Regions from separate parts of the Homo sapiens genome. Here region 1 is linked to region 2. The links are contacts of gene promoters, found by promoter capture Hi-C in blood cells and fetal thymus (Javierre and others, 2016). All regions are on one chromosome and are shown on one strand. The core of a region is centred on a gene start or on the middle of the fragment in contact, and the rest is flanking DNA. Distances in the headings are between cores, read along the strand shown. Region 1 holds the start of EPHX4 (epoxide hydrolase 4). Region 2 overlaps GLMN (glomulin, FKBP associated protein).

Evidence for each region. Contacts are between HindIII fragments. The CHiCAGO score rates a contact against its expected background, and 5 or more counts as called.
Region 1: the fragment with the promoter of EPHX4 here is called in contact with a fragment that was not itself captured in region 2 in 3 of 17 cell types (M2 macrophages, endothelial precursors and M0 macrophages); the score reaches 7.2 in M2 macrophages.

The regions. Positions count from the first base shown.
Region 1 is chr1:92,028,139-92,031,551 of GRCh38, reverse strand. EPHX4 (epoxide hydrolase 4) reads right to left here and starts at 1,567. Exons shown (of 7, transcript NM_173567.5): 1 at 1,242-1,567. The coding sequence starts at 1,472. LOC124904218 (a long non-coding RNA gene) reads left to right here and starts at 1,165. Exons shown (of 2, transcript XR_007066222.1): 1 at 1,165-2,187. RefSeq lists an enhancer at 1,367-1,868. The HindIII fragment of the contact is 12,008 bases long and covers 601-3,413 here.
Region 2 is chr1:92,266,425-92,269,815 of GRCh38, reverse strand. GLMN (glomulin, FKBP associated protein) reads left to right here. Exons shown (of 19, transcript NM_053274.3): 9 at 40-93; 10 at 1,681-1,711; 11 at 1,814-1,903; 12 at 3,075-3,116; 13 at 3,324-3,391. Among named protein-coding and RNA genes, the nearest start is that of GLMN, 31 kb to the left of the region's middle. The HindIII fragment of the contact is 1,418 bases long and covers 1,125-2,542 here.

The sequences.
Region 1 (3,413 bases), core at 318-2,817, 240 kb after region 2:
AGGGCTGTGACCAGAATCTCCATCTTGTCCTAACTCCCAGGACAATGCTCTTTCCACTCGGTTCTCTGTCTCTGGGGAAGCTCTTTAGGCGGCCAGAGCGAGGGGAAAAGTGTTTTATGGAATTCCAGATGGTTCTTATACTACTTTTACCCCTCAGGTTGAACAGAGATAACAAATCTGACTTTACCCTCAGCTGCACGATGGCTTCCTAGAGGTTCAATAACTTTTTTTATTGGTGGTGAGTCTTGGAGGATTAAATGTTATGGGCACTGCAATGGATTTAATTAACAGATACTTTATTGCACTGACTATGCATCAGGCATTGTTCTAAGTTTTTCGTGTTTGTTTTTATAAATATTAACCTATTTAATTCTCATGTCGACCCCAGGCAAGAAAGAAGTTCTCTTGCCCTTCTGAACTTCAGCTGCGGGGCAATTTAGCTCCTAACAGGAAATAAGGACTTGGTGACATAAACATCCCCTCTTATGAGGCTGGGTTTGAAAGGCCTGTGAGTCAGACTGCAGGGTGTATCACGGGAACTATTTCCCTTCACCACCTGGAGCCTCAGGAAACAGAATATTTGTGGGCTGTGAGGAAGCTTGAACAATTAGCGTCTGCAGGCATGGCTGGATTTACCTTTTATTCCATTCCTTTCTTTGGTCCCTGACTTCATAAGTATGCATTCCTCCCCACAACACACACAATTTACTTATTGTTTCATGCAACCTAAGTCGTCTGTGATCATAATAAACTCATGACTCCCAAAGACTGACTGTTTACTCTTATTATCTCTAAAATTGGGCAAGAACAGCCTCCTGAGACATTAGGATGCCACGAGGAACAATTCTCTACAGCTGATCTGAGCTCTAAAGGGCAAAAGGGTGACAGGAGACAGCTTCCCCTTGCAGTAGGAAAAAGAGCAGGTTTATTCTGGGTTGTTGTGGCGCCGGGGGGCAGTAATATAAGAGGCCCCTGATTAGAGAAGTTCCACATTCAGAAACCAATCAAGGTGCCTGCAAAGACCGAGTGCTGTTTATCTGTATCTCTCTCTCTCTCTCTCTCTCTCACACACACACACACACACACACACACACGACACACAGGGACCCAACCCCTCCTCCCCTCCTGCCAGGACACTAGGGGACGCTGAGCCAGCGTCTCGGAAGGAGAAGCCCGGAGCCCCCCACCCTCGCGGCGGTCACGCTCCCTCCCGCTCCCGCCAGGCCCGCGCGGCCCTTCACCTTGATCCGCACGTAGCAGTGGGTGCCCAAGGAGGGGTCGCTCAGGCACGCGGGAGGGTGCTCCCGGGCGGGCCGCCGGAAGGTCTGCGCCGGCCCCTTGCCGAGGCTCCACAAAAGTTTGAGCAGGTGGATGGAGGCGCAGAGCCCGCAGTAGCAGTAGACCAGGGACCAGAAGAGCAGGGACCGGAGCGTGAGCATCAGGCGGGGCAGGCAATCCCGCAGCCTCGCCATTGGGAGGCGGCGGCGGGGCCCACTGCCCTTCCTCGGGAGCGGGTGAGCGAGCGCCGCAGCGCGCCAGGCCAGCCCGCCGTCGCCTCTCGACGCGCGCCTCCCCCGGCCCGGGGCGGCCGGCGTTCCGTGTCACCGCGGCGGCTCCGCACACGCGCCGCGCCCAGCCCGGAGCGCGCAGGGGAGAGCCGGGCCTGCGGGGTGCGGCGGGCCAGGCCGGGGTGCAGAGCTTGGCTGTCTTCCGCGGAGAGCGAGATCCCGTTTCAAAATCGCAAAACTGTGGGGGAGGATGAAGGCGAGACTTTCCCAAACCATCCTGGGCACCAAAGAAGGTAGCGCCACTCAGTCTTCTTTGTTGTTCTCAATGTATCAAGCAAAACTATTTCTAAGCCCACATATTCGTGTGTCATAGTTCAGGGACACAGGTCAGCGACAAACTTCCATGCTATTACACCCAAAGAGATTCTTTAGAGTGCAAAATCACTCTGCACTCTGAAAGATACCAGCCTTCCTCTTCTCAAAATCTTTCGTGGAATCATAATTTCTGTAGAAATCCGCCTATGCCTTGCCTGGTTCAGCCACAGCAAACTTACAGAGAGCTGCAACCCCAGGGATACAACGAATGCTTCAACAACGTGACGCGGCAGAAGCCTGGCCAGAAGGCCACACACCTGAGAGTTCGTCGAAGGGCTGGAAGCCGTGAGAGTGACAGTCCTCGGTAGGTATCTCAGCCTCAGCACCGACATGGCCACTCTTGTCCTGACCTCTTCTATCGTCCAGTTCACTGTTAGAATTTCATTAAGCCTTTTCCCAATCACCGGGTCAGGTATTAAGTGTTCATTTTTTATGAGAAACTGTCAAACTGGTTTCCAAAGTGGCTGTACAATTTTGAATTTACTTCAGCATGTGTGAGTTATACAATTGACCTTTGAACAATGCGGGGGGTTAGGGTTGCTGAACCCTTTCACATCTGAAAATCCATGTATAACTTTTGAGTTCCCCCAAACTTAAGTACTAATAGCCTACTACTGACCAAAACAATTAACATATGTTTATGTATTACATACTGTATCTTTATAATTAAGAAAAATGTTAAAATCATAAGGAAGAGAAAATACATTTACTATTCATTAAGTGGAAGTGGATTATCTTAAGAGTGTTCATCCTTGTCATCATCAGGTTAGGTAAGCTGAGGAGGAGAAAGAAGAAGGGAGGTTGATCTTCCTGTCTTGGGGTGAGGGGGAGGGAAGAGGTGGAAGAAAATCCATGTGTAAGTGGACCTACACAGTTCAAACACATGTTGTTTGAGGGTTAACTGTATTTTGCTCTTTTTTTCTAGGGTCTTGAGTTAGGAACTTATTGAGACCTTTGCAATTTCTAATGCAATCATTTAGCACCTATACATTTCTCTCAGTACTCTTTTTATTTTATTTTTTGAGACGGAGTCTCACTCTGTCGCCTAGACTGGAGTGCAATGGCGCGATCTCCATCTCAGCTCACTGCAAGCTCCGCCTCCCGGGTTCACGCCATTTTCCTGCCTCAGCCTCCTGAGTAGCTGGGACTACAGGCGCCCGCCACCATGCCCGGCTAAGTTTTTTGTATTTTTGGTAGAGACGGGGTTTCACCGTGTTAGCCAGGTTAGCTCGTGAACCGCCCGCCTCAGCCTCCCTAAGTGCTGGGATTACAAGTGTGAGCCACCGCGCCTGGCATCTCTCAGTACTCTTTAATCGTATTACATATGTGTTGATATGTTGTATTTTGCCATTTGTTATGTATTTTTTAAAATGTCCTGTTTTAGGTTGGGTGCTGTGGCTTACGCCTATAATCCCAGCACTTTGGGAGGCTGAGGCAGGAGGATCGCTTGAGCTCAGCAATTCAAGACCAGCGTGGGCAACATGGCAAAACCCTGTCTCTACAAAAAATAGAGAAATTAGCCAGGTGTGG
Region 2 (3,391 bases), core at 584-3,083:
GTGTGTATAATATATATATTTGTTTTGTTTCTATTTTAGCCCATTGTACCTTTTGCAGTTTAATATGGGGCACATTGAAGTCTTTTTGCAAAGGTAAGATCGTTTAGATGGTATCTCAAAATGAAATAGTAGTGTTAAAATAGTCCTTGTTAAGATCAGCGGAGACTGCCTTTTCTTTGCTAAGCTCTAATTAATTAATTGGTTATTTTATAAAACAGCGAGGCAAATAATTCACGAGAGAGACAGAAATGAGTCAAGGAGGTTTTACACCAAAGTCTGTTTTATTTTAAACTTAAGACAGTATTAAGATTTTGTCTTAAGGGCTTTTACAGTCATCTGTTTCTAAGGTTTCTTCTCTTACTCCAAAAGTTGGTAAATTAAAACACCTCTACCCCACTGCATCCTCCTCCATCTTAAGGAAGGGCAGTCAATAAAAGAAGTTCTTCCGTATTTTTCCTTCATGGACACAGTCTGTGAATTGCATCAAAAGGAAGGAGGTGTCTTGACTTCCACCTTTTATAATTTAGATTATTGACAGTGATGTCATTCAATTACAACTTTTCTCATTTGAGGTGCTAAGCAGCAGGACTTTCTATTTAAAAAAAAAAAAAAAAAGCCAGGCACGGTGGCTCACGCCTATAATCCCAGCACTTTGGGAGACCAAGGCGAGAGGATTGCTTGACCCCAGGAGTTCGAAACCAGTCTCTCTCTCTACAAAAAATAGAAAAAATTAGCCAGGAGTGGTGGCGCCTGCCCGTTGTCCCAGCTACTTGGGAGGTTGAGGTGAAAGAATCACCTGTGCCTGGGAGGTCTGGGCTGCAGTGAGCAGAGATCATGCCACTGCAGTCCAGCCTGGGCAACAGAGTAAGACCCTGTCGCAAAAGAAAAAAAAAAAAAAAAGGAAATTACAGAGTAACAGGTATACATAATTTCTAGACAGAAATTAAAGAATTTCACAGAACTATATGCTTTGTTTTCTTTCACTATAACATGTAACATGTTTAAATTATCCCCTGAGATCAGTTAGGGCTTTGCAATTATCCTCTATGAACACTAGTGACAGTTTATCAGTCCCATCTCTTACCAGGTGAAGGAAGATTTGTAACATGGCAATGTCCAAAGCTTCAGCATACAAGGCAGGAATTTCCAAGGGTCTCCTGGCACAAGTAGTTACTAATTCTGTAAATTTGCTGTATTATGTATGTTTTAATGATTTTATATTCATTACATTTAGTTTCTGTTATTCATACAGTGATAATATGTATTGTTTTGAATCTAAGTCCTAAATTCTTGAGATTTCCAAACTGCAGAGTCATTGAGTCTTTTTTTGAATAAAAAGAATTGGAAAGATTTTACAGAATAATCAACTGGAATATATAGCATTGGTTATATCAGGTTTAGTTAGTTTCTTAGCACTTGCTGTTGAAGATCTATTGTTTTGAAGTTAGGAAATAATCCCTGAGTAGATTTATTTTGGTCAGATTTAGTGGCCTTAGCCAAACCGAAAGACAGATCAAAGATGGATTAAAACTTTTGATCAAGTTCTTCAACAGAATTTCTCCTTAATGATATGCATTTTAAAAGTGTTAAAATTTCAGTTTTTGCTGTATTTTTCATAAGATGAAGTATCATTCTAAAATAGTTTACAAATTCATGATAAATTTTAATATTATTTTTCAGAACAGAAGAGTCTGTTATCTCCAAAGGATTGGTAAGATGTTTGTTCCCATTATAACTTAAATACATAGTTATGTCAACAAATAACAGCTGTTGACTTCACTATATATGTATCTGCATATATTTTAATCTGTAGGAGCTGCTGGAGAATAGTTTATTGAGAATAGAAGACAATAGTCTACTTTACCAGTACTTAGAAATCAAGAGTTTTCTTACTGTACCTCAGGTAAATAAAATATGTATTCTAATATTGAAAATAGCCCTTTGCCTGTTCTGAACTTAAAGTAAGGTCTTTTCTGATTCCTTTCCCACTCTTTTCTCTGCAACCTTTGAAAACTCTGGTGTAATGCTGTCCAGTAGAACTTTGACAATATGAAAGCCACTAGCCAAACTGAACACTTGAAATGTGACTAAGGAACTATTTTTTTTTTTTTTGAGGTGTAGTCTTGCTGTGTCGCCCAGGTTGGAGTGCAGTGGTGCTATCTCAGCTCACTGCAAGCTCCACCTCCTGGGTTCATTCCATTCTCCTGCCTCAGCCTCCCGAGTAGCTGGGACTACAGGCGCCCGCCACCACACCCAGCTAATATTTTTGTATTTATAGTAGAGACGGAGTTTCACTGTGTTAGCCAGGATGGTCTCGATCTCCTGACTTCGTGATCAGCCTGCCTCAGCCCCCCAAAGTGCTGGGATTACAGGTGTGAGCCACCACACCCAGCCGGAACTAAGTTTCAAATTTAAATTTTAATTTATTTAAACACGAATAGCTATTAGAGGCCACCATTATTGATAGCACAGCATCCAGTAGAAAAGCATAACTTTCTTCTTTTAACACTTTATTTCTGTAGGGATCTTGGAAAATGAAGCTTCTTTATGTTTCTCATAACTCAAGTTCTCAGGACTCCATCTAAGGCATCCACTGACTCATTACCAGAAAGACTAATACACATTGTGTTTTTCCCTCCTATGGTTTATTTTGCCCAATCCTCTTTGTTAGTTATGATATCCAAGGAAATCCTTAGATTTCAGTGTGGGAACTGGTTTTCCTAATATTTAAATAGAAAAACATGGTTTTTGTTAACATATTGTTTGATTGTTTTTAATTAATAAATTATATTTCTGTAGATTTGATTTCATTTTCTTGCCACTGTAGACATAATTGAAAATTATCGTTTGCTTTTAAAAGTACACTGTGTGACACTCTACTCAATATCACTTAAAAAATCAATTGTAGTTAGCTTTCTGGAATGGAAGGCTTAGGGAAAAATTAATTTACTTCACTTTTAAATCTCCTACCCTCACTTCTCTGAATTTTTAGTATCCTATTGATGTATTATAGTTGTTTGTTTGCAGTCAGTATAATCTGTTTACATCTGAATTTTACATTTTTTTATTTCCAGGGCTTAGTGAAAGTAATGACACTTTGCCCCATTGAGACACTGGTATGTAAATATTTGGTGACTAAAGAATAATGAGTTACAGTGAGAAAATTTGACAAATAATTTAATTTTCTTTTTAAAAATTTTAATTTGTGAAATTTTTATTTAGGAGGTACAAGTGTGGATGTATTACATGCATAAAATGGATAGTGATGAAGTCTGGGTAAGCTTTATTCATTTTATATAATAATATTGTTTGTTCCATTTTAGAGGAAAAAGAGTTTAGCTATGCTTCAGCTGTATATTAACAAGTTGGATTCACAAGGCAAATATACATT